2 separate regions of the Homo sapiens genome follow, and region 1 is linked to region 2. The links are contacts of gene promoters, found by promoter capture Hi-C in human tissues and cell types (Jung and others, 2019). All regions are on one chromosome and are shown on one strand. The core of a region is centred on a gene start or on the middle of the fragment in contact, and the rest is flanking DNA. Distances in the headings are between cores, read along the strand shown. Region 1 has its middle 43 kb from the start of C10orf90. Region 2 holds the start of ADAM12 (ADAM metallopeptidase domain 12).

Region 1 (6,471 bases), core at 3,859-6,358, 330 kb after region 2:
TGTCAGATGTACCTCCTTGCTATAAATAGGTGTTATGGACTAAACGTTTGTGTCCCAACCTCAAAACTCATAGCCTTAATCGCTAATGTGATGGTATTTGGAGATGAGACCTTTGGGAGGTGATTAGCATTAGATGAGTTTCTGAGGGTGGGGCCCTGATGGATAGGATAAGTGCCCTTAGAAGAACAGATACCACAGGGCTTGCTTCCCTCCACACACATACACAAACAAGAGGTCACCACCTACAAGTCAAGAAAAGAGGCTGAAAAATAAAACCTATCTTGCTAATATCTTGATCTTAGACTTTCTAGCTTCCAGAGCTGCAAGAAATAAAATTATATTGTTTAAGCCATGCCATTTACAGTATTTTGTTATAGCAGTTTTGTTACAGACTAAGATAACAGCTAGCCACGACACTGAGCAAAATGTATGTGGCAACTGTTTTGAGACAGTAGACAAGAGGCAATGCAGGAGAGTAACCCATGAGAGACAAGAAACATACCAGGTAAGCTGCACATTTTCTAGGAGCAATTTCCAGAGTTCAATATGGGAAGTGAAGTCCAAACCCTGCAGGGCTAAGAAGTTTGGGGTTGCCAAGACAATTGGAAGTTGTGGGGAACATGCAAGGAGAGAGGAAGTGGGAGCTCGCCTCTGGTTCTTTAGCAACAGCTGGACTCAGCATACACAGAATAAGCCTGCGAAATTTAGCAAAGAGCTAGGAGATGAACAAGATGCTGTAGGTTACACAGAGCCAGGCATCTAACAATCGGAAAAAAGGTCACAGACAGGGAAAGGGGCAAAATCAGGGTGTACCCCATGGTGCTAGATTGGAATTGGAGTGGTCATTATGCACTGATGCATATACGCATGTATTCATGTATGTGTGTGTGTGTGCACGCATGTGTGTCTATGCACAAATACACATATATACACACACAGAATATCTATAAAAATAAACATATTGGCATACATATGTGCTCGAAGTATATGTATTTGTATGTTTATGTATATGCATGCATGCATTTCTTAGCTCTGTCCACTGAGAAGATCTAGAATCAGTGACACACCAGTAGCAACGAGCATATCTGCTGTTTAGATTTTGGCTTCTAAATACCATTCTTCACTAAAAAGAACAAAGAATCCTAGGCTGATCTCAGGGATGGGACAAGTAAAATACAAATAAGACTGTGGCATCATATTGTACCAGAAAGCAAGAAATTGCTCAAAGAATGATGGGGACATATCAAGAGGACATAGGAGCCACACAGAGCTTTCAGTGACTAAGTCTGTGACAATTTGAGCACCAAAATTTATAATATTAGTAATGGTTAGTAACTCATCAAATAAAATAAGAATACATGAGTCCGTAAACAAGTAGATGAATACATACAGTAAGCAAGGAAAAAAAGAAAAGCTTTTCCCTTCTGCCAAGTGCCAACTAATAAATATAAAGGCCTTAGGGGGGTTAGAAAATCATCAATGAGTGCTAAAACTAGTGGATAAAAGTTGCAGGTGGTACAGGATATTTACATAGTCTCAAGGTATCTCCCTTTACATTGCCTATTAATTTCAAAGGAAAATGGTAAGTTTACATAGAGAAAGTTGGCAGATTCTACCTTTGCCAAGTGATCAAACTTAACGTCGCACATATTGAGACAAACAAATATCACATGCCTTCTGATATTATGTGCTATGAAAGACAGAGTACTGTTTCTTGTGTATTTCTGCTAAAACTGCTGAATCTGAATATGAACGTGGGAAAACATCAAACAAACCTCAACTGAGAAAGTCCATAAAATAACTTGAAAATATCTAAGGTCAAGGAAATGATAAAAAGGACAAGAGACTGCTTCAGATTAAGGGAGACTAAAGAGACATGAAAACTGAATGCAAGAGTGGTCCAGAACTGGGTCCAGGCCTTGGGGAAAAAACTACAAAGGACATTGAAGGAATGATAAATATGGACTGTGGTTTAGATAATAGTATTATATCAATGGCAAGTGTCCTGAATTTGTTAATAGTACTGTGATAATGTAAGAGAATGTCTTGCTCTTAGAAAATACACACTGAAGAATTTAGGGGTAAAAGGGAGTGATGTCTCCAACTTACTTTCATATGGCTCAGAAAAATATTGTTAATAGATAGGTAATGATAAATCAAATGAGAATAAAATGTAAACAATTGGTGAATCTGGGTAAGGAGGTATTGGATAATTTTTGTATCGTTTTCTTTTACTTTAAAGTCTGAAATTATTCAAACTAAAGAGTTACCAGAGAACTTGTCATCACTGGAAGGAACAAGAGCTTCCCTCAAAAACATGATTCAGACTGCCAGTCTCATCCTCTAAGCCATGAGTCCCTGACTCCCCAGCCACGGACCAGTACCAGTTTGTGGCCCATTAGGAACCAGGCCGCACAGCAGGAGGTGAGTGGTGGGTAAGTGAACAAAGCTTTATCTGCATTTGCGGTCACTCCCTGTCGCTCACATTACCACCTGAGCTCCGCCTCCTGTCAAATCAGCAGTGGCATTAGATTCTCATAGGAGCACAAACCCTACTGTTAACTGAGCATGCAGGGGATCTAGGCTGCCCTCTCCTTATAAGAATCTAATGCCTGATGATCTGTCACTGTCTCCTATCACCTCGAGGTGGGACAATCTAGTTGCAGGAAAACACGCTCAGGGTTTCCACTGATTCTATATTATGATCAGTTGTAGAATTATTTCATTATATATTACAATGTAATAATGATATAAATAAAGTACACAATAAGTGTAATGCATTTGAATCATCCCAAAACCATCCCCCTACCCTGATCCATGGAAAAATTGTCTTCCATGAAACCAGTCCCTGGTGCCAAAAAGGTTGGGGATCATTGCTCTAAGCTCACTTCCACCAGTGAAACATGGTACCCTGCACATGGCTGGTTGCTCAGGATGATCTAGGGAACTGAATACTAACTGGTTATAATACACCCAGTGCATAAGCCCAGGAGAATAATTAAAGGCAGGTCACACACTAACATTCCCTTCCTAACCCCTGCACATTAACCCACTGAGTAAGAATGTACCACTTCCTGGTCCGCCATAATATCAATTATCCATTCTCTGGTCACTTAGCCTGTGACATACTGAGATACTGGGTGTGACAAATGTTAGTAAACTGAGAAGTGGTGTCTGTGTGTGTGTGGGGGGGTGCATGCACGTGTGCAGTAATAGTTGTCATTTTCATCTACTAACCATATGCAATAATGCAACAGAGGGGTGAGCTTTTGGAAATCAGGGAATATGTCTTCCTTTTGGAATCCTACATAAATCCTCTCACAGCATCTGGCACACACGAGGCATCCACGAGACACCCAGTGTGGTGTGGAAGAAAGCTGAGTCAGAAGACCTGGAGTTTACTGGCCAATGTTCTCCATGTGGTCCGGGACTTCTTACTTTACCTCTCTGGACTCCAATTCAGTTCCATCAAGCACACACTGGTGCTGTCTGTAGCCAATCTTAAAAGTAGTGTCTGAGGCCGGGCACAGTGGCTCACGTCTGTAATCCTAGCACTTCGGGAGGCCAAGACAAGTGGATTATTTGAGGTCAGGAATTCAAGACAAGCCTGGCCAACATGGTGAAACCCCATCTCTACTAAAAATACAAAAATCAGCCGGGCGTGGTGGCAGGCACCTGTAGTCCCAGCTACTTGGGAGGCTGAGGCAGAAGAATTGCTTGAACCCAGGAGGAGGAGGTTGCAGTGAGCCGAGATCACATCACTGCACTCCAGCCTGGGTAACAGAGCGAGACTCTGTCTCAAAAAAAAAAAAAAAAAAAAGTAATGCCTGAAGAGTTATTTTATCAGTCAAGTTTTAATCAAAGGAGCAGAAACATTTTGAGTATTTTGGATTAAGGGATTTATAGGATGAGGCTTTACACAATTGTGAGAAAAGCTGAAGAAATAAAGTTCCGAGGGGAAGTTGGTAGATCAGAGAAGAGTCATTCCCCAGCTCCTAAGAAAAACTCCAGAGTGTGCAGAGAAGGTCACGGAAAGCTGCAGCCTTTGCACTGAGTTTGCATCCATCAGTAGGGCCACCAGTCAAGAGCTTGATACAGAGCAGAGGAGGGCAGAAATCAGCTGAACTCTGCTGGAACCTCACAGCCTCTAACCAGGACAGTCTTTAAAGAGTCCTACTGGCAGCTTCATTTCCATCTCTGTCACAGCTGCCCGCCAAGAGAGACAGACCCCCACTCAAAGCTTGGTTCCAATGTGGAGACTGATGATGCACACACAACAAGCTGGTATGAAAAAGTTTATTGCTCACATAATTGAGCTCTCTGGGGGGAGTAGGCAGGCCTCCCCAGCAGGCCTGACATGGCTTGAGGGATCGGGGAACCTCTTCCCCGATCGGGGGTTTTATGTGGTTAGGGGGTGGGGCCAGCGGGGAGCTCCTTTTATAGCACAGGCAAAGGCTTGTGTGGTTTGAATTTCCTGCACTAAAGGGAAAGAGAAGTGGGCTTTTCCATCAGCTTGTCCAGCTACGGGGATCAAAAAGAAGAGGGAGGAACGAGGCTTAGAGCTGTCAGCAGTCAAACATCAAAACATGGAGACACATCAAAACATGGAGACAGACTTCTCATTATAACCTTCAGATCTCACAGAAGTATCTCTTCACCAACTTTCACTTGGGGCCATACAGGAAGGAAGAGTCTAAAAAACATAACTTCAGTTTAGCCAAGTTAACCCCATGCAGAGACACCACAGATATCGCTAGGCAAGTCCATGATTAACCAGAGCCAGTTTTGTTAGATTGGGAACATCCTATGGCCCACTAAACTGAAATTCGTTATTGAATAATACAAAATACAGAATAGAAGAAAACTCGTCTTCAGCTTGGCTCTTGAAATATACAACTCTTCCCTTAATTTGCAGTATAAAATAACATCCACCATATCCTGGGCAGGAAACAAACCTTGCCCTCTCCACTCACTGATCTCTATCAAGAGGACCATTTGCAGTGGCTGATGCTTACGGGGATTGCTGAAAAGATACACCAAGGCTGCCTATCCAGTTCTCAAGCTTTTCCCAATTTTACCCCTGGATCATGCCAGCTTGTCAGGGAGCTGCACACTTGGCCATTGTCCTGCCTCCTGTGATGGATTCATGGCAGCCACCTATTCTTTTCTATTTCTCCTGTCAAGAGGTGGAGTCAATTTCCCATTGATATAGGAGCTAGAAAGTAATTATTTAGGCAGATAGGAAGGGCAATAGAGTCCTTGGCGAAATTTCCCTTTTAACGAAAAGCAGCCCCCAAAATCATTTCTTTTCTAACAAAGAGCAGCCTGAAAAATCAAGCTGCAGACATAGACAAGCAAACTGGAAGTTTGCACAGGTGAATGCTGGCAGCTGTGCCAATAGAAAAGGGCTACCTGGGGACCAGGTATGTTCAACATGGAGGCTCCATCTTCCCTTTTCTTTGTAACCATGTGTAAAGTAAGAGAATAGGCAACATGGTGCCAGCCAGGTAGAGAATCCATGTGCATAATAAAAGATTAGGGTGGGGTAGCCAGATTTTCACGCACTATGCAAATGACACACCTAGTTCTAACCAATTTTTTGCGCCTTATGCAAATGGCACACCTTGTCCAAACAATCTTTCATGCCCTATGTAAATCAGACACCACCTCCTCAAGCTAATCTATAAAACTTGCTGCATTTCACCACGGAAGCAGCAACCCATTTTTCTGGGACCCTTCTCTGCTACAGAGAGCCCTGCTCTTCTCTTTGCCTATTAAACTTCCACTCTGAGCCTCACCCTTTGTGTGTCCATGTCCTACTTTTCCATGGTGCGAGGCAACGAATCTCAGGTATTTACCCCAGACAACAACGCCATTTCACCATTCTCTTGAATCTGGACTAACCTCACAATGTGTTCTTACCAATGGAATGTGGTGGAAATGATGTAAAATTTCTGAGGCTGAGCCTTAAAACACCTATGCCTTTCCCTTCACATCCAAGAGGATGGTCCTCTTGGAACCCTGCTGCTGTGTGATGAGAATCAAGGCATGGAACCCCAGCCCACAGCTGACAGTGGTGTGGGAGGGAGCCATGCTGCATGCTCCACATCCAGTTGAGCCCATGGATGACACCACCTCGCCACTGCCTGGCTGAGCCCAGTCCAACCCACAGAATTGGTAGAGATCATAAATTGGACTGGTTATACTAAGTCACTAAGTTTGGGGCAATAACCAAAATGTCCACTACCCCCTCAATGCCACCCACCCCCTTTGTGGGATCTTTCACTGAAATATGCTTTGGTATTGGGTCATCTGCTAGCATTGAAGGATACTTCAATGAGAGACTGGCTTTTATACAAGGTCATTTCTGTCTCCAGCAGAGCTGCTTTCAAGGACAAAGTTTGCAACAGCCAACACTGTTGCTTTGTGAGCACCTGAAGCAGAAATTCTTCTCAGGTGTCAGCCATAGAA
Region 2 (7,456 bases), core at 1,771-4,270:
AGGAACCAGGGGCAGAGACATATTTCTTATTATATCACAATATCACAGCTTGGTGCACAGAAAATAAAGCAAACAAAAATCAAGACAAGGCAATCATTAACTCTAGGAAAAGCAAAAAGTTACAAGAGGGATGAAATGCCATAAAACACTGCACGGCAAAACAGTGAAAAGTATTTGCAAAGTCTTCTTAGTGCAAACATTGAATTTTTTTTTAATGATGGCACTACTATATTGGGTAGTTGAAAAGAAGAGAAGGCAGTGTGTCTGGAGTAGGGTGAGCAAAGGGAGAATGGTAAGAAAGGAGATCAGAAAGGAAAACAGGAATTAGGTCATGCTGAGGTTTGGATTTTCTTTCCTAAGGGTGCTAGAGAGCCACTGGGGAGTTTTAGACAGGAAACTTGAATGCTCTAACTCATGTTTGAAAATAATAACTTTGGCTCTATTGTGGAGGAAAATATACCATGCAGGGATAAGGTGAAAAGCCAGTAGGCCCGTTGGGTAAGAGGGATAAGAGGCTTCTGCAGAAGAGATTTTTCCTATAATGTGGCCTGGACTGGGAAAGGCACACTTCGGGATGTAAGGAAGTGGGTAGGTGGGAATATACTTAGGAGGTTGGTGGCTTACGGAGTAAAAAGAGGGACACAGGGATGACTTCCTGCATGTCAGCACAAGGCATGTGGAGAAGGCAGAGGAGGTTGTTACTGGGTTCAGGAAGGCTGGGGAGGGAATGATTTGCAACTAGAGAGTCTGGGATCTAGGGTTCTGTTTTGGACTTGTTAGGCCGAGTTGCCCCAGAAAGTACCAAGTAGGCAACTGTGCCAGGGCTCAGGGTACAGACAAGGCTAGGGAGAAACTCAGAATATGCTCAGACTCAACAGGTAGTAATTCCTCCTTTTCTCTTGCCAATGCAAAGAAATGTTTCATTATATGTTTGGCGTTTTATACGGCCTCAATGGTATGATTTGGGGCACTGATTGATTGAAGACTTGATACTGAGAATCTAAGGGTAAACAAGCAGTGAATCCTGGAATATATCACAATAGGTAACCCATTCAAAGTGCTTAGGCCTCCCTGGTTTTCTATTTTGGGTCATATCTGTCTTAAGGAAACACTCTCTCTACCAAAGCTGAACTCATAAAATAGTAAAAGTCCTCCCCCGCCCACACACACAAGAAATAATTTCCCATTATTAGCTGGATTTAATAAACATTTTCTTCCAAAAAAAAAATTTGTCCCTGCTCAGTAGACTTCTCTTTATGTGTACAAAGCACGTGCCAAGTTAAAGACCATGTCAGGCACACTTTGAGACACTTTCCGTTTTTTAAAAAGTTCTTTCTTAATAAACATTCAAAAGGACCAATTTGTTTAAAAGTCTTTCAAAGCACAATTCACTACAGGTCGTAGAGTTCTTTAAACCCTCAGCAGGATTCTTTCTTGACTTTCTCATTGCTTTGTGCAATCTTTGTATTTAATCATTTATCCCCGAATTGGTCTTCGCAGTGTGGCTTTTAACAAGAACTGGGTTTTAGCCACATTACAGTAGACGCGGTGGGGGCGGAGGGCAGCAGTGGCAATCGCAAAATAAAACGTATCATAAAGTGGTAACGGTTCGTGATTTAGGCCAGTTGTTGAAAAATAAATGCCTGTTATATAGAATCACAGAACTTGAGAGCTTGCGGCCAAGGGAAGTCGTTCATCGGTGGACCGACAGCGCCCCGGGCGGCAGAAAGAAGGCGGCGGCGGCGGAGACCCGGGGAAGTTGCCGGATTTTTAAAAAGGCACCTGCTGGGTGAGTCCTCACTGTGCAAACGGGAGCCACAGGTGCCCGATTTTAAGGGGCTACAACTCGGGAAAACCTAAGTCTGTAAAACTAAGTACGTTAAACTAAGTAAGTTCTCGCTGTGCACCAAGTTGATGGGGGCGATTATTTACGGCGGAGAAACTGAGTGGAGGAAGGAGGGAGAATTCCGCTAAAGTTTGCCTGCGACTGACAGCTAGGGAGTGACCTGGAAGCCAGGAAGAGGGGCAGAGAGGAAACTAAAGAAGTAGGTAAGAGAGTCAGTTTATGAAAATAGAGCCTGCTGTGGAGAGCAGCAGGCACACCTGCGGAGGAGGGGGCTGCCTCACCTGCGGGGCCGCTGCGCGCCCCCCTAAGTGTGTTAGCGGGGGAGGCGGGGCTGGAAAGGAAACCTGGTGAAGGGCTGGCCCGGAGCCTGGGGTGGGGATATTCACTGCGGGATAGGGCCAGCAAGAGGACCCGACACGCATCGTCCCGAGTGACACGTGTAAATGTCAAGATACAGAGACATCTGCAAATGTCACCCAAGAGGGTGAGGACGGGGGAGCGGTCCCGAGGCTGTGCCCTCCGGGGCAGGTACTGGCTCCTGTGGGGCTGCGGGCCAAGTGTCGCCCTTCCCCAAGGAATTGGCACCTGGGGGGGGGGGGTCGGTCTCGCCGCGCTGGAAGCGCAAGCCCCGGGGCTCCGGAGATGCGCCGGGGCGCGTCGCCCCTCGGGGCAGCCCTGGACCTCGGCGCGCCCAGGCGCAGCGTGCGGTGCCCTCGGCGGGGCGGGCAGCGAGCCGCCCTAGTTCGGCGACTTACCTCGGGCCTCGCAGGGCGCGAGCAGAGCACCGGCCAGGGCGAGCAGGAGGGCGCGGGCGGGGGACACGGGCAGCGGGCGCGCTGCCATCGTCGCCGGCCTTCAGTGCAGCAGCTCTCGGGCCCGGCGGCGAGCGCTGCACCATCCCACGCGGGCGCCGAGCCGGGGCCGGGCGTCGCGACCGGAGGGATTTCCTGCCTCGGCGAGTCAGCTCCGGAGCCCTCGCGCAGCGCCCGCGCCGCCGCTGAGCTCTTCTAGCCTTTCATTTTTAAAAAAGTTTCCCCCCGTGTGTGTGCGTGCGTGCGCGCGCGCGCGCCGTTCTGGCACAAGCCAGCCTTGACCGTTGCAATAAATGAGCAAACTGTCCGAGTTGGCCCGGGGACTAGGAAGAGCGTTAGTGAGAGAAGGCAGGCCTGTGAAATGGATCCACGGCCAGCAGTCACCGTTCTTATTACCGCGGAACAAATTATTGTCTCCCCCGCACCCCCGCCAGTTGGCGGCGTCCCGCGGGTCCTAGAGACCGCTCGGGTCCCCCCGCCAGGGTCCCGCCCCGAGCCGCGGCTCGCTCACCCCCGAGGGTGGGCGGCTCAGACGTGGCTCAGTGGCGTCCGGGCGCCCGGAGCGCACACGTCCCCGCCCCAGGATGATGTGGCCGCAGGGCCCGGGGCGCCCGGCTGCCAAGCGCACATGCGGCGGCACGGTCCAGCTTTTCAGGCTGAAGCTGGAAACGATGACTCTGCTACTCGCTCCCCGGCTCTCTGGGAACCCTCGGAGTGCGGGTCAGGTCTCCACCGCGGCCCACAGCCCGGCGCGCGACCCCGCCCGGCCCTAAGCGCCCAAAGGGGCATCTCTCGCCCGAGAAACAAGCTTGGACTCGCAGGCACAAGACACCTGGGCGTTACTTTTGATCAACAGTGTTAGGTTTTACGTTGATAGATTGGCTCACGTTTCCATTCCATGACCTGGACCCAGAAAAGGGTGTACAGTGACGTTCCCCAAACTTTCCTGATTGTAAGAAGCACCTGGGTTGGCTTGTTAAAAAGATTCCCGGGCGCCCTCCTACGCTTTCAGAATGAGACTCTCCAGGCTGTGAGGCCAGGGGAGCCCAGGGTGTTTGGAGAAACACCAATGAAAGAATGGTGCGCCTTGCCTTCTCATCCTTGTTCCGGGCTGACCCCACCTCTTCAGCCTCGCTCGGCCCTCAGGGAGACCATGAAAAGCAGCAGCGAGGGGGCCCGCACAGACAGAAATGGCTGGAGCTATGGAGGATGGCTGATGCCCACCCTGCGGGTTACCATGATTCCCAACCTTGGGGACTTATTAGAATAGTAAGAGTTAAAGACATTGCCAGCCCCAGACACCAGTTAACTCAGTTTCCCACAATGCGTGGAGCTCAATAGTTTTCAAAGCCTCAGGTGATTCTACTGTGCTGCTCAGACCTAGGACCACCTGCAGAAATTCCATCCTGGTCCTGCGACCTCGCACCGATTCCTGACGGAGCACCCACTCCTAGGAGGCGGTTATCCAGCATTTGAGGAAGCTGCCTTCCATACCATCTCTTCCCACTGCAGAGGAGTTTTCTCAGGAGTTCCCTCCCACGGCAGGTTTTGCAGTGTTCCCAAAACCCAGGTCGATCCTCCTAACAAGGTGCAGGACTTTCTTTTTAAAAAACCTTAGTGGGAAGCACAGGCTCTCCAGCCCCCTTCCCAATGCTGCCATATCTCAGTACCAGATCTGGAAACCAGGCCTGGTTCAAGCCCTGTGTCATATCTAACCGTACTACCAACCAGCGTTGCAGTGTACTTCTTTTGTTCATTCATTCAGTCAATCTACATGAGCAACCCTATGTTAGAACTTGGGAAACTAAACGAGAAAGCCTCTTGCCTTCAAAGACTTTTCTTTCTGATCAAACTGATAAATCATCATTATTGGACAGTGTGAGCTAGTTACTTAACCTAGTTAATAATGATTAGGCTTGTTTACTGATATGGTTTGGCTGTGTCCCCACCCAAATCTCATCTTGAATTCCCATGTGTTGTGGGAGGGACCTGGTGGGAGGTAATTGAATCATGGGGGCAGGTCTTTCCTGTGCTGTTCTCATGGTAGTGGATAAGTCTCAAAAGATCTGATGGTTTTAAAAAGAGGAGTTCCCCTCCACAAGCTCTCTCTCACTTTCTGCCTGCTACCATCCATGTAAGACATGACTTGCCCCTTCATGTCTTCTGCCCTAGCCATGTGGAAATGTAGGTCCATTAAACGTTTTTCCTGTATAATTTTACCCAGTCTTGTGTATGTCTTTATCAGCAGCACGAAAACAGACTATTTACTACTTCATAATTCATTACATACCTCGTATAATCGGAGTATTGTGCTAACGTCTTTCACCTGCATTATTTCATTTTTTAAGTCCTGAATATACAGATGAGGAAACTGCAGCATAGAGATGTAGCTTTCCCACCACCACACAGTGAAGTAGGTCAGAGCCCAACCTCAGATCTGTTAAAGATAAAGCCTGTTTCTTTAAGGCTGAGTTCCAACCTTCAGTTTTAGCAGCTGTTAAGTGAAGGTAAAATACAAACCTCCCAGGTGGTTGTGAGCACCAGGTGAAATAATGCAATGTCTCCCAACCCACCTGATCCCTGGGATGTCTGTTAAGAATTCAATTCCTCTGGCGTTTGCACTGGAGATTCTCATTAGAAAGGTCTGGGAAGGACAAGTTTTAGCAAGTACTTAGGTGATCCTGATACTTGTGGCCCATAGAACTTCAGACACATCGACGCAAGAGAATTAAAAATTGTTTTCTTCCAGCTCAAAGGGCCAGATTTGCTTGCAGATGAGCCCAGCCACTGGCCTCTCGGATCCTTCTGACTGGTTAAATGGTTTATTCACAATGGACCTAACATGTGCTGTGCACTGGGCTGGGGGCCTTGTATACATTTTCTCTTAATGATCAATTTATTTTCGCTCTTTCATATTCAATTGTTAATGTTGACTGTAAAAGTCCAATTTCTTTTAAACCTGGATGTTGCAAAGCTTCCTCCAAAGAACTAAATGTGCCCCAAGACTGTCCTTGATTTGTTTCTGACTGAACGAAAGAAAACAGCCATTGCAGAGGAAAAATGAAGAAAAATAAAATCCTGGCTGCAAGCTCTGGATTTCAACCCTGTAATTCACCATCTCTGTGAAGCAAGCGGCCTGGGCTGACACTGTCTCCACAAAGCCTTCATAGACATCAATAACAGCCAGCTAAGGCAAAGAGCAAATCCTGCGTCTGGCAGATGGTCTGTCTTTGGATGGAAATTCTGCCTCCTCATTCACAGGAAATGGAAGCCGACATCACATTCAATACTGGATTGTTAGGTAATGGTGTGGGGTCAGAGGCCAGGATCTACACACGAAAATTTCAGATAGATGGCTGGTTGTCCCTTCCTTTCTGGAAGAATTGACCTTTGCAATACTGTTTCCTGTGTGCTATTTTCGTTTAACAGCCTGGGCATTCACAACGAACAGGGCACTTATTTCTTACCCAAGCTCATGTAAGCTCAATCTGCTCTGAGTACAAGCAGATGAAAAACGGAGACAAACTTTCCTAAGCCAGGAATTTACAGGCAGCCACTGCTAATTTCTGCAGTAAGTGAAGAGCCGGCCTCCTTGCAGAGTGACCTATTGACAGAACTTCAGACACAGGCTTGCAGAACAGCTTTCCTCTCTCCAAGCACAGTTCCCAAGGCTTACTCCAAACGTAAACAAATGTGATCACCCCAAGATTAAGATTCTTGGAAATCATTTTTATTCTATCTCTTGGAGAGATGAAAACTCCTGCTCCTCTCGGCGTATTATAATAACATGTAGTCCATTTTTCTTTTCCTAGATCTCTCACTTCAAGAATCCATGCCTTCACCTCCTCAGAAACCTGCCCCCAGTGAACCTCTTCTGGGCAGATTAAACCCTCTTGTCTCTGATGCTTTCATTATTGCACAGAATTAGCACTTAAGTAGCACTAAACGCCAAAGAAAGAATGCTCCTGGGGCTGGGGACAAGGAACTCGGGGATGCGCTGTGTCACAAGAGACAGGAAAGGTCACCCCATCTATATTCATCTATGTCACCTACCCACTGACCAGTCAACTTCTCCAACCAAGTGACAGTCATACTTCACTTAACAAAGATACATTCTAAGAAATGCATCATTAGGCAGTTTTGTCGCTGTGTGAACATCACAGAGTGTACTCACACATCTAGGTGGTACCGCCTACTACACATCTAGGTTTTATGGTATAACCTGTTGCTCCTAGGCTACGAACCTGTATGGCACATGACTCCACTGAATACTGTAGGGAATGGTACAGCAAAAAGGCAGAAAGGTACAGTAAAAATACAGTGGAAAAGATTTTAAAAAATGGTACACCCGGATAGAGAAGCTCCATTATAATTTTATGGGAGCATCCTTACAAGTGCTCAAGTGCGTACCACGTGATTGACCAAAATGTCATTTGGTGACTCATGACTGTACTGTGATGGGAAACTTATTATGCCCCTCCCTACACACCCCCAGATTCCATTTTACGTACCCCAAGTGACTGACAGTACTAAGAGAAACAGACACCTCCTGGAGCAGCAGCAGCTGCTGAGACAGCCTCCTAGACCAGGTGCTTATCTCTCCCGCCATCAGCGGGGGCAGGCTGAGTGCAAAGCCAGCACACAGCGAAAGGAAAAGGGGAATCTCAAAAACAAACATGAACTATGACAAGAATGACCAAACATTTGAGGATACTTCATTTAAGAAATAGGGCTGGCCGGGTGCGGTGGCTCACGCCTGTAATCCCAGCACTTTGGGAGGTCGAGGTGGGCGGATCGC

What was found. The method cuts DNA at HindIII sites, captures the fragments that hold promoters and counts their contacts. A contact is called where the count stands out against the background at its distance.
Region 1: a fragment that was not itself captured here is called in contact with the fragment with the promoter of ADAM12 in region 2 in 1 of the 25 tissues and cell types used here (spleen).

Annotation. Positions count from the first base shown.
Region 1 is chr10:126,710,431-126,716,901 of GRCh38, forward strand. No RefSeq gene overlaps it. Among named protein-coding and RNA genes, the nearest start is that of C10orf90, 43 kb to the left of the region's middle. The HindIII fragment of the contact is 3,528 bases long and covers 3,345-6,471 here.
Region 2 is chr10:126,385,457-126,392,912 of GRCh38, forward strand. ADAM12 (ADAM metallopeptidase domain 12) reads right to left here and starts at 3,021. Exons shown (of 23, transcript NM_001288973.2): 1 at 2,602-3,021. The coding sequence starts at 2,689. The HindIII fragment of the contact is 8,947 bases long and covers 1-4,549 here.